Regions from separate parts of the Homo sapiens genome. Here regions 2 and 3 are each linked to region 1. The links are contacts of gene promoters, found by promoter capture Hi-C in blood cells and fetal thymus (Javierre and others, 2016). All regions are on one chromosome and are shown on one strand. Each heading gives the region's core, a stretch centred on a gene start or on the middle of the fragment in contact. The rest is flanking DNA. Distances are from core to core; before and after follow the strand shown.

The links. The method cuts DNA at HindIII sites, captures the fragments that hold promoters and counts their contacts. A CHiCAGO score of 5 or more calls a contact.
Region 2: a fragment that was not itself captured here is called in contact with the fragment with the promoter of FBXL3 in region 1 in 2 of 17 cell types (total B cells and monocytes); the score reaches 8.0 in total B cells.
Region 3: a fragment that was not itself captured here is called in contact with the fragment with the promoter of FBXL3 in region 1 in 1 of 17 cell types (total B cells); the score reaches 14.4 in total B cells.

Annotation. Positions count from the first base shown.
Region 1 is chr13:77,024,884-77,029,180 of GRCh38, reverse strand. It overlaps FBXL3 (F-box and leucine rich repeat protein 3), which reads left to right and starts at 2,022. Exons shown (of 5, transcript NM_012158.4): 1 at 2,022-2,354. RefSeq lists silencers at 1,902-1,951, 2,122-2,401, 2,422-2,481. The HindIII fragment of the contact is 14,791 bases long and covers 1-2,055 here.
Region 2 is chr13:79,359,077-79,363,373 of GRCh38, reverse strand. It overlaps RBM26 (RNA binding motif protein 26), which reads left to right. Exons shown (of 22, transcript NM_001366735.2): 10 at 3,688-3,799. Among named protein-coding and RNA genes, the nearest start is that of RBM26, 45 kb to the left of the region's middle. The HindIII fragment of the contact is 4,955 bases long and covers 58-4,297 here.
Region 3 is chr13:79,330,510-79,334,806 of GRCh38, reverse strand. It overlaps RBM26 (RNA binding motif protein 26), which reads left to right. Exons shown (of 22, transcript NM_001366735.2): 20 at 377-463. Among named protein-coding and RNA genes, the nearest start is that of RBM26, 74 kb to the left of the region's middle. RefSeq lists enhancers at 3,135-3,635, 3,636-4,136. The HindIII fragment of the contact is 630 bases long and covers 1,719-2,348 here.

The sequences.
Region 1 (4,297 bases), core at 773-3,272:
ACAATAATAAAGAGACTAATTGTTCATCTGCTTTTTATTACCACATGCATTGGCAATTCCAAACAGGGTCAGTAATAAATTATTTTTCCCAGTTGGATCAATGTGCTCCACACTCATCCTTTCTCCCACCTACCATGCCACTGATCTTGATGATACAATTGATAAATGTAAATAAGTACTGACTGATTAAAAAATAAACGTTTTTTTTCAAAAAAAATGAGGTGAAATAAAATATTTGCCAATAACAGGGAAGAAAAGGGGTATTCAATAGGTCAAGTGTGCCAAGGTCCTTGTCTTGTTTAGGAGGAGAATAGATCATAATGGCGAAAAAAGAAAAAAAAGAACTATGATTGGAATGTGATATAACCGTAATGTGATACAATATTAACGTAATGCAACCTATGCTCATCATGTTTACTGAATTGGTTTAATGTATTTTGCTGATCATTTATACTGTTCACCCAACTTTAAATAAATGGGCCTGTATTTGACTTATTTGTTTTTCCTTAATAATTATCATTGTCCTTCTTAGAACTTCCTATTGTTCCTCATCATCCAGTCACTGAGGGACCTAAACAAATGTTGCAGCTCAGGCAAATCCACACTCTTATGCTACTAGAGGCTTTGTACAGTTTGATTCAGTGATCTGACAGCTGACAGGCCCTTAAAAAACACCGAACAAACAACACTGGCATTTCCCCACATTGAATTCATTTTATTATAGAAACAGTCTCACTCTCTCACCCAGACTGAAGTGCAGTGGTGACATCATAGGTCACTGTAACCTCCTACTCCTGGGCTCCAGCCATCCTCTCGATTCAGCCTCCTGAGTAGTAGCCGGGATTACACCAAGCTCGTCTGATTTTTTAAAATTATTACTCTTCTATTTTTTTGTAGAGACAAGAGTCTGGACATATTGCGCAGGCTGGTCTCCAATTCTTGACCACAAGCAACCCTTCTGCCTTGGCTTCCCAAAATGTTGGGATTACAGACATAAGCCTGTACCACTCCTGGCCTCACACTGAACTTCGACGTAACTTTATACATGGCTTCCTAGCTCAATTTCTTGAGAAAACGGGAAGAACGGAGAGCTCCCTGGGCACCACTGCTTTTCAGTGTCTTATACATGGGTCTGAGTGTTCTAAGACATCTTTGAATGGAAAACTACTTTCTCTCTTTTTTTTTGGAGGTGTAGAGAGGAATGGCGCATGATTCAACTTAATGATATTGCACCTAAGAATGTTTCTAACTGTAAGAAAACGCAGTATCAAAAAATCCAAACTTTAAAACAAGTCAACTAGGTAGCAGTTACAAAGATGCCTTGATTTACAAAAGGATTCACCAGAGGTTTTCTTTTCAGCAGCTTTGTAATCCTTTACTTTCCCCATTGCGTTTCAAAAGCTATTTACAAATTTCAGGACTCTATTTCATAAAGCAAATGTCGTTTTTAAAATGTAATAACTCTAATGATAAAAGCCACTTTAGAAATATTGGGAAATACAAATATTTGAAAAACAAAAACCATGTGCAATCCCAGCGTTAATACTCTCACTATTCTGGTACATTTCCTTGGCATCTTTTAAGCACCACTTATGCACATCGATGCGCGGGTCTTCGGAGACTGTATTTAACTCCTCGGTTTCAGGCATCCGGGGCGGCCACCCGCGGGCCGCGGTCCCCAGCAGGCTCCGGCGAGACTCCTTCCTTTCTTTTTTCTGCTCCACCTCCCTAAACCTTCCAGTTTCAGCCACAGATAGTCTCTTCCACATATAGCTAGCTTCAGCCCTCCCACATTCCATCTCAAAACAACAAAAAAAATCCCCTTCAAGCGGGAGTCACATCTCTGGCAGGAAGGCAGAGGCTCGTCCCACAGCAAGGAGACTGGGGCGGCCGCAGCGCGCGCTCCCGCTTGGGCGCGGCCCTACTCCCGCCGGGCTCCGCCCCCCCCCCGCCCCCTTCCCGCCCCCTTGGGCGGGGACGCGCCAGGGAAGCGCGCGGCCGCGAGCCCTGGGCGCCATTTTAGACTCGCTGTTTGTGGCCCAGGTGCAGGAAGCTTACGCGGTGGCAGCCGCTCGCTGAGGTAGTCTCTCGCGGCGCCGGGGATCCCTGAACACAGACAGCGCGGGACTGAGAAGGAAAGCTTCTTTCTGGGCAGCCAGAGCCGCAAAGGTGGAGCCGCGTTGGCGCCCTCCGCGGGACCAGCGCCTCGGATGCGGGCGGAGCGCGGGGGGCCGCGGCTGCGGGAGCGCGAAGCGGGGGGCCAGGGGCGCCTCATGTGAGAGCCGCGGGACCTGCAGCCGCCGCCGTCCCCGGAGCACGGGGTGGTGTGTGGGGGAAGCCGCCCCCGGCAGCAGGTAACGGCGGAGGGGCAGGGCCGAGCCCCGCTGCGACGGCGGAGCCGGGGAGGGACCGCGGACCGTCTGTGGGCGGGCCGGGGTGGGGTGGGGTGGGGGGGGGCGCGGGGGCCGGGGCGCGCGCGGGCCGCTCCTCAGGAGTGCCGGGCGGGGCGCGGGGCGCGGCACCCAGACCTTGGAGCTTGCTTGGGGGCGTTTCCCCGCCGTGCCTGCTTCCAAACATGTCAACAAGGCGTGGTGCGTGTGCGGCGGCCGCCTGCAGCCTGCCCGCGACGCCGCCGCTCCCGGGTTCGCCGCGGCTCCTGCCAGGCTTTATGACCCTTGGCGGGGGCTGGTGACAGGCACCATGGAGCTCGCACTCTGTGGGCTCTCCCGGCGTCGGCTACGCCCGTGCTGGTAGCTTGAGCAATGAGGCACTGAAATGTCAAAGCAAACTGCCCAGGGTGGGGCGCATGAGAAATGTCAGGGGAAGCCAGTCGGTGGGGAGGTGGCGCAGGGAGGAGGGGACGCCCCTGCCGCTTAGCCAGGCGAAAAACTTGGTCAACTTGTGTTGAGCGGATTCGCGTCTGCCTTTGGCGTGGGCAGTCCTTTAGGTGGGGTTGCAGACAGGGGTCAGGAAGCAGCCCAGTAAATGGTCTGTATCTCCAAGCTGAGAGGTGAGAGAGATCATTTTTATTTTGTCGTTGCTAATGATATCCAGTTGAGTGACCCAGATTTTTTAATTAGAATCCTCCTTTTCTAACTTGAAAAAAAAGTAACTTAGTTTCTGTTATCTCTGAAATATTTATAAAAATACCATCAACTATCAGTTATCTATCTATCTATATGACCTGTAGACAGATTTTCGCCACTGTGCGCTCTCTAAGCATTTAGTTGTGAGTTAACCTCTTTATAGTGTTTTATTCTTGTAGTTCAGCCAAAGAATGCATATTAGTTTGATATTAGTAAAAGCAGAACAGAAAGGAACTGTGATGCCAAAATAGGCTTTTTAGAGTTAACTACAAATGAGCATTTAAAATTATTGCATGCCCAGTGTAAAAGTGCCTAATACAACGATGCACACGGCTAGCTGTTCACTTCCGGTCTTCACCTAATGAAGTTGCTTCTTTCAAAGTTTTTTTTTTTTTTTTTTTTTTTTTGAGACAAGGACTCACTTTGTCACCCAGGCTGGAGTGCAGTGGCGCGATCTCGGCTCTAGCGATCCTCCCACCCCAGGCTCCCTAGTAGCTGAGACTACAGGCATGGGCCACCATGCCCAGCTAATTTTTGTAGAGACAGGTTTCATCGTGTTGCCCAGGCTGGTCTCAAACTACTGAGCTCAAGCGATCCGCCCGCCTTGTCCTCCCAAAGTGCTGGGATTACAGGCGTGGCCCACCGCGCCCACCTGGAAAGTTTATGGAACATAGAGTTAGTTCACTAACTCCTTGTGCTGCTCAGCTAGTCTGTGGTCTTTCCTCAGTAGTTTGCTATTTAGCAGTTTGTAGTCATATCAGTCCCTCACCAAAAGCTGTGGTGGCCTAAGTTGCATTATTTGGGGCCTAGAAGCTTTGCAGGAAATTAAACTGCCAGAGCCCTGAAGAGGCCTAGTTTTGGTGCTCTAGATTTCTAGAGTCTAGAATGTCTCATTGACGTTTTATAGTACAGCTTGGTTCTCCACACTTCTTTTCAAATATAGGAGGTGTTTTCACTTTGACAAAAGTAGGAATTATAGGGTCCATTGATGTAAATTATTTGCAGGCTGGAAGATGCTCTGAGATGTTTAATTTTATGTATAGCAGAGTTTCATGTGTAAATAGATTTAATAAGATACTATTAAAGTAGTGTAAATTTTTTCATACATAAATGAAATCAACTTGGAAAAATTGACATTTAAAATTTTAAGTGTCCACTCACTTCTGTTATTTTCATGCACAAATGAGGATAGTGCAGAGGATATTTTTATT
Region 2 (4,297 bases), core at 1,286-3,785, 2.3 Mb before region 1:
TTCCCAGTTTGGATTTTAAATTTACTGTCCTGGATTGTGACAGATACATAAAAAGCTTATTTATTGTTAATTATATAATTATTACACGTTCCTAATAGCCTATAGATGGCCTTAATTTAAATTTGTCATAGACTTATTATTATGTGATAGTTAAACTTTTATGCTTACTGCTTTAAATTTTGAGGGCAATTATTCAGCAAAAGGAAAGAAATTTGGGCCCTTTGATGCATTGAAATTACTAATGTAAAAGTTACCTAGAGGCCCTGACAGTTATTTTTTGCAGAGTTCTAAGGAGGTGGAAAACTTGATGGATGATGTCATGATTGGATATAGGGAGGAGGAAGGGTTAAGTAGTTTTCCATTTCTAGTCAACAAAACCAGTGCTGACAATTTTAGGCAGAAAAACAATTCATTAAAATGATTATTGGGGAAAAATACATTACATAAAACTATTTAATATTAGATCATTTGCTGAGTATATACCAAGAGGAACTTGCTTCTGTGTTTTTAATACCCTTCTTTTAAATATATATCAATGAAAGGGATTCCGAATTAGAGAATACAGATGAGATGGAGCAAACCCATTTCAATTACTGGAGGCAAAACACATTATTCCCTCTCTTAGTGAACCTTCAGGTACGGAACATATTAAAGTAAAAAACAAAAGATGTTGGATAGGTCACAGATTCTCCAAAAGGGCTGGTGAACCAGACTTGGGAGACAGGAATAAGACCAAAAATCCTTTTGCAGAACCGGTCCTTGGAAGGTACCACTGGACAGAGAAACATCGCACGTGCTAGATACAGGATGTTTCCTAGAGATGTAGGATAAGTCAGAGTTAGACAGAGGAAGAGAATAGATACAGCCTATGTACCCTGTGATACTTTTGAGAAACTGAAGGAATTTTGTGACTGTAAGAGAAGAAGTAAGTAATGTAGAGGGAGGTAAGAGGCTAATTAAAAGCATTTACAGAATTTTAGAATAGAGGTGATAGTAGCTGGGCTAGGGTAATAATAGAAATGAAAAAAATAAGTTTAGTGGAAAGAATTGACAAAACTTGTAACTTATTTAATTTGGAGGCTTAGAATAGGGGTAATAAGTGGATGAAATTAGACACCCGTTTCCTGCCCTGGATAATTGGGCAGATGATAATATCATTCATTGAGAAGGACAGCTTTGACAGAAAGATAAATTTAGTTTTGAAAGTGTTTAACTTCTTGTCCCCCTGGGGCATTTGAGTAGAAATGTCCAGTGGGAAATAGGATATGGAAGTCTGAGGCCCATGAGAGACAGTTGACTAGAATATACAGATTTTGGAATCATGCATATGTAGAACTTTGGTCCTTAATCTTTTCTTCTGTCCCATTAGTACCAGTGGGAGGTAAAGGGAGATAGAAGGAGCCATACCAAAATCTGTAGGTCTGACTTAACATAATTTTAAAAACCTTTCTCGTGCGTTTCTAAAATCTTCCTCTCCCCATCCCCACTGAGAATCACTGAAAAAGATGAATGAAGCCATGGCAGTAGATAAGAAAGTTATTTTAGGAAGGCTATGTAAAGTGAGATGAGAAAACCCAAGTATAACTACTTGACAAATGTCAGCATCAAAGTAAATGGACAGAGAAAGGAGAACTTTATAGAAAACTTAGAAATGAAGCCCAAAAGCTGCAGACAAAAGCAAGGAGTGGGGATTCCTAAAAACCCAGGGAATATAATACCTAAGATGGAAAAGAAGATGATCAACAGCCGCAAATTCTCCTGAGAGGTCCAGTAAGAGGACTGGGATGTATTCATAGGCTTAAGCAACAGGTGAGGACATGAGTGATTTTAGCACGAGCAAGTAAAGTGAAGTAATGGGAGCAACTGCCAGTTTTCAGAGGATTAGTGAGTGGGTGTTAAGGAAGCAAAGTTAGTAAGTGTGGACATTGATTAGGAAAGGGCTGTGGGAGTATGGAGAGAGATGTTGTTGCTAAAGGGAAAACTGGTTTTACGAGAGTTTCTTTTTTTTAAAATGGAGTAATTAGAGCTGTAATGTTTGAATGTTGATGGGAGGTATCAGTGTCCTGGGAAAGGTTGAAAATGGAGGAAAGCAGCAGGAGTCTAGAGCGTTGATTTGAGTCTCTGTATGTATGGCATATGTGGGTAGTCATATATCAAATATGACTTGACTGGGATGATTGGGAAAATGGTAGTTTCATTAATAGAAATGTTTAAGAAAAATAAAAGATAGACTTAATATGAAAATAATTTGAACGTTCTGCATAGTGAGTTTTGAGATACCTGTAGGATTTCCAGAGAGAACAAAGAAGTTGAAAATTTAGAATTGAGTATATGCTCTCCTCCTGCAGGAGACCATAGCTGTGGCCATGAGAGATATTGTGCTGAAACAGATCTTCAGTTCTTTTGGTTAGTTAGGTGTTTAGAAATATGTAAAAATAGGATTTTAGACAAATCAATTTTGCCATCTATAAAAAAGGAGTTTTTAAGTTACATTTTTCTATGTGGATTAAGGTTTGCATGTTTTAAACTTTGGAGTCATTTGGGAATAACAGGTTAAATGTACTATGCTCATTACATGCCATGTAAGTAAATATAAAATGTTGAAAGTAACAGACTTTTACAGCTCTTTTACACTGTATTTTAGACTTGAATCTTTTCCTTTTTTAAAGCAAGTATGCTTTCATTACATTCATATTTTATGAGTCTATTCCATATTTAAAAGCAGCTCACTTCAATCATAACTCTAACCTTTCACTTCTCAAAGATTATTGGATTAGTGTAAAGTTTTGAATCTTTTAGATTGTGCATTTGATTTCAAAACTATGAACTTAAAGCCTCAAAGTGATTATTTTCTCATTTGTGCATTGATATATATATATATATTTGTGGTGAGGGTGATGGTAGATGGGAACAATGACTTGGGTTTTATCTACAAAGAAGTGACCTACAGAATCACATTTTAATTTGGCATGTGAGAATTGATTCTTTTTCATAGTTAATTGTGAAATGAATATGTTGAAATAAGTTTGAAAAAACCCTTAGATTACTGTATTTGAATGTACAGTAATTCCCCTTTGTCTGTGGGTGATATGTTCCAAGACTCCTCGTGTGTAAAACCACAGAGTACCAAACCCTACATATACTATGCTTTTTCCTATACAGTCACACCTGTGATAAAGTTTCACTTATAAATTAGACACAGTAAGAGCTAAACAACAATGTCTAATAATAAAATGAAATAATTATAACAATATACTATAATAAAAGTTATGTGAATGGTCCCTGTCTTTCTCTGTCAAATATCTTTTTGTATTTACCCTTCTTGGGATGATAGGGGATGATAAAATGCCTACATGATGAGATCAAGTGTTGGAGCAGGATGGTGTGAGATTTTATCACACTACTCAGAACTGCAGGCAGTTTAAAACTTAGGAATTGTTTACTATTTCTGTAGTTTTCCATAATTTTGGACTGTGGTTGACTAGAGATAACTGAAATCGTAAAAATGAAACTGGATAAGGGGGAGCTACTATACATTTATTTCTATTTCTTCTAAAAAAAAAATTATATATATATATATATATTTAGACAAAAGCCAGAAATTTTCCTGTATGAGGAAGGTATCTATGATAAATAGAAAATATTAACCTATGCTTATTTTTTTCATTTTCTTTTGTTTTAAAACAGAAAAGCCTCCCAATAAAAGCAGTATGAGGATAGTAGTGGACTCAGAATCAAGGAAAAGAACCATTGGTTCTGGAGAGCCTGGAGTTCCTACAAAGAAGACTTGGTTTGATAAGTAAGGTGGCCAGGAAAATTGAGGAGTATAATTGTGCATTGATTTTCAGGATCATTTCTGTATTATTATGACAATATGGTTTGGTTTCTTCCAAAAATGTTACTCTGTTCTGTAAGCAATCCCCAAGTGTGAGTTTTCTAAAAATTGGCAAGTTAGTTGTCTGATGTTAGAAAAGCATTTTCTTACAGAAATGGTGTGGTAGTTCAGGGCATAATTTTTTCCTCTTATCATTTACCCTCCTCCAAAAAACCCACTCTTTAACTTAGACCTGTTGAATACTAGCTATATACAGGATAGTCATGAGCCTCTCATCATTAGAGGAAGGAGGTATAGATCAGACCTGTCAAGAGACTTTCATATGTAGGCAGTTCCTGCTAGGTAGGAGCTAGAAAGGGCTTTTGTGGGGGTTGGAGAGGCTGTCTAGGCATTGAATGGTCAAGAAAGAGCTTCAGATAAAGGGGTAAGGAATCAGAATGTTAAGATATGTGTGAGGTGATT
Region 3 (4,297 bases), core at 784-3,283, 2.3 Mb before region 1:
AAATTCTGAGGATTCAGTATGTTGCTTAAGAAAGAGTTTATCTTGGGATTGGTTTAGTGAGTATAAGAGGAAAGTTAGTTAGCAAGAACGCTCAGGCTTTGACCATTATTTCCTTCATTTAAAGCATAGTTCAATTGAGTATAAGTTTTACTAATTCTGGGAAGTGTGAATTGTATGTAAGATTGGAAGACAGGACCACCTTTTATCTTATCAAGTACTAAAATAAATTACTCACCATACTTTTCTGTTAACCATTATGAATTGTTATGTATTCTGGGTTATATTTATTAGTATTTTAATGTTTTTTAATACCATTAGGATTTTTGGATATTTCAAAATATTTATTTGGAGGAAATACTTTTTTTTTAATTTAAAGCAATATGGTGAAATTGAAGATTGTCAGATTGATGATTCCTCACTTCATGCAGTAATTACATTCAAGACAAGAGCAGAAGCTGAAGCAGTAAGTTTTAAAAATAATTTATCAATTCAGATTTAAATGATTTATAAGTATTACTTTTAAGTTTTAATATAAATGAATTTTTTAACTTACTAAATAATATGCTTTGACAATAGGTAGAACACCTGAAGTGGAATTCATGCCCTCAAAGAATGTCCTAATGCAGTTATAAGCAATTCTGTGTGTAACATAATACAATTAAAATACATATTTAGTCACCAAGTGGAATGTCAAATTGTGCTGTCGTGAGATACCAGGGATTCTCCTTTCTTTCTTTTTCATAGTAGATAGGGCCACTCCACTACCCATTATTCTTTTTTTTCAGCTGACCCAAAACAGGATCTGCTTTGGCAGAATGAGTGGTGAGGGATAAGGTACAAGCAGTTCTAATGTCTGCCCATCTTAGCCATTCCTCATCTACTGCTTCCTGGTCTCATCAGGTTGAACTCTAAAAGAAGTGTCCCTAGTTCAGCATAGCCCCAACTAGACTTCTATGACTTTTTGCCTAAGACATGGTCTATACCTCTAACTTTGAGGGTACTCTTAGTAAAGTTACCTTAAACTATCAATCTTGAATTGTCTTTCCAAGGACTGACCGGAATATCTGCAACCTTGTCTTTCATTTGGGTTTCAAAGATTAAAAAAAAAGGAAAATGGGAGTGAGGTGTAGGGGATTCATAGGAGCCTTTTTTGCCCTGTGTGTTCTTTCTTCAGGAATTGTAGAGAAGACAGTGTCACTGTTTTGTCCTTGCCATTGTTCCAGGGATGAAATAGTTTTCCAAATGAAAGCAATGAAAGAGTGAGATGCTTTTCAGAAGTTTTAAGTTGATTTCAACTTAAATAAGTTTTGAAAAAACCTCTACATTTATTTATCCTCTTTGTAGTGAATGTTCTCTGCCAGCACAGTGGTACATTGCTTACCTGGTAGAAGTTGCCCTTGGGGCATTGTAACCATAAGACTATGGGTCTGATAAGTCATTCAACTGGAGCCTTGAAAAAATCTAGTTTTGGGGGTAGAGGTAGGGGGTAGTATATTATTTTATAAAATAGGAATTCCTGATCTTAGGGTGTTCTCTTTTTAAAGCTAGCTTTGAATAATCATTTCTTTAATGTTCTTTTGTGAAAGTAAAAAGTAATTTAAAATTGATGAGATTTTAAAACTCATAAGCTTGTATGTGTGTATGTTATATTGAAAAAGGTAGATCTTTGATTAAATGTTCTCTCCAGGGTATTGTTAAGTGCAAGTTTAGAGTAAGCTTCCTTTCAGTGGTGGCTTCAGTTGATAATTTTTAGTCTCTTGCTAGATAGGTAGTTTTATGTTTTATGTATTTTCTAGGGAATAGTGGTATTATAAAATAATGATAGTTGTTACTGTACAAATGGTTCAGATATTGCCAAATTTGTGGATTTATTAAGAACTTTAAATATGTACTACTTCCCTTGCTTGCTTATATGGCTGAGAAAAAATTAAAACCTCTTCTTAAATAATTTTTGGAAATTTTGCTCGCGGAAAGACTTTTGACACGTACCTTCTTTCTTGGGTCTTGCTTTTTGTACCTTAGGCGTGTATACAATGTATTTTTCAAAATTAATAACAATAAAAAATACCAGGGATTAATGTATAAGGAAGACTTTAGCACTGAATTACATGAAGGTTGAATAAGTGACAGAATAACTAAGGCCAAGTTAGGTCTAATGAGAATTACCTATTTAGAGGAAATAGCTTTAGTTGGATTTACTTAATAGACTAAAAAGAGTAATGACCACTGCTATGATAAATGTTTAGATTTTTAGTTACAAAAGTTGTTAAAGCATAAGCATATCCTTAAGCCAGAAAGTTTCTTAAAATTTTGTAATGTTGAAAAGAATAGAAAATTAAGTTGAAGCTTATCTTATACAAGCAGGATACATATAGAGCAGTGGTCTTCAAACTTTTGGATTTCAGGGAACAGTAAAGTTTAGGAATTTAAAAATTTGTGTGTTTGTCATAGAGGTATCAACTTTTTATTTTGCCAGGGAAGAATACTTTAAAAATACAAAAAGATTGTCATGTTCTATCACCATTGTTATATAAAATAAAGGAAATTTTAACACTGAAAATGTAGGAGAACATGAACTCGCAGTAAAGGATAGGCCTTCCCAAGAAAAAACTGTCAGCCCTTGCCAATGTTTACTGTCAAACATTACATTGTTCTTGTTTTCTGGACCATTATCCTAGATGACTGAATGAATTTATTTTCTATAATCAATAGATGCATAGTATTTCAAGATGAAAGTACAAGAATAAATAAGGTAATTGAGACATTCAGATATAACTGAAAAGTGAGAAGTTTTCCTCAGGAAAAATATTGAAGCATTTTAAAGACCATCAGTATAAGCAGAACACTGTTAGCTTTAGGTTAAGATGGTTTATGGTTTGACTCTGCCTTGTTACCTAGAAGATGGTTCCTATTACCTTATTTTCTATTTTTTTGTCTATCACCATGCCAAAGTACTAAAGTTGGATAAGTACTCAGACAAGAGTAAAGCAGTCGTCTCTTCCATGACTGATTTGAATATTATCTTTTCTGCACTGAATTGTTACTGTACCTTTGTAGGAGCCCAAGATCCTGTTCAGAATAGGAATAATTAAGTTGCTGTTTTAGAAGAATCAGAACAAAAATGAAACCTATAGTCCCAAACTCACAGAGGTACAATTTTTTTTTTTTTTTGAGGCGGAGTCTCGCTGTGTTGCCCAGGCTGGAGTGCAGTGGTGTGATCTCAGCTCACTGCAAGCTCCGCCTCTCTTGGCTTCATGCCATTCTCCTGCCTCAGCCTCCCGAGTAGCTGGGACTAGAGGTGCCTGCCACCACGCCCAGTTAATTTTTTTTTTTTTTTTTTTTGTATTTTTAGTAGAGACAGGGTTTCACCATGTTAGCCAGGATGGTCTCGATCTCCTGACCTCGTGATCCACCTGCCTCAGCATCCCAAAGTGCTGGGGTTACAGGCATGAGCCACTGTGCCTGGCTGCGAGGTACAATTTTTTATATCAAAAGGAAAGAGGGGCCAGGCGCAGTGGCTCACACCTGTAATCCCACCACTTTGGGAGGCCAAGTGGGGTGGATCTCTTGAGTCCAGGAGTTCGAGACCAGCCTGGGCAACATGGAGAAACCCCATCTCTACCAAAAAATCAGCCAGGTGTGGTGGCGTGCACCTGCAGTCCCAGCTGTTTGCGAGGCTAAGGTGGGAGGATCACCTGAGCCCAGGAGGCAGAGGTTGCAGCGAGCTGAGATCATGCCACTGTGCTTCAGCCTGGGCGACAGAGCCAGACCCTATCTTAGCAAAAAATAGGGGGAAAGAGAATCATGTTTTACTAAATGGATTCAACCAAAAGAAGTCAAATTATGTGCATAGCAGAGTGTGTGTGTGTATGTGTGTGTGTTTTTACTGATACTTAATAGTTATTAAGTGCTGCTATGTGATGGGCACTGTGCTACCAGAATTAGTAACTTGAGGTCTGAAGCTTGTGGGAAAGTAGCCATGTGCATTGAACTCAAGAGTTAAAGAATTGGAAGTCTTTCTTTGTAACTTCTAAAAATTAGATTTTGCATGTTTTTAAAAATGTGTGGTCATATATATTATATAATTATATGTATTTGTGTTCATAACTCGTGCTTTAACATTCTATAACATTACAAATATTACTAAACTTGCTTTTAGCCTTCTTTTATATATTAGTTATATTATCGTTACTAAAAACGTAAGGAACCATAGGATTGCAGTTTACTTTTCGGTAATTATCTGTATTTCAAGTCAGTTTTCTCTGTAGTTTTTGCAAAACACTGTTTCTGCAAGAGA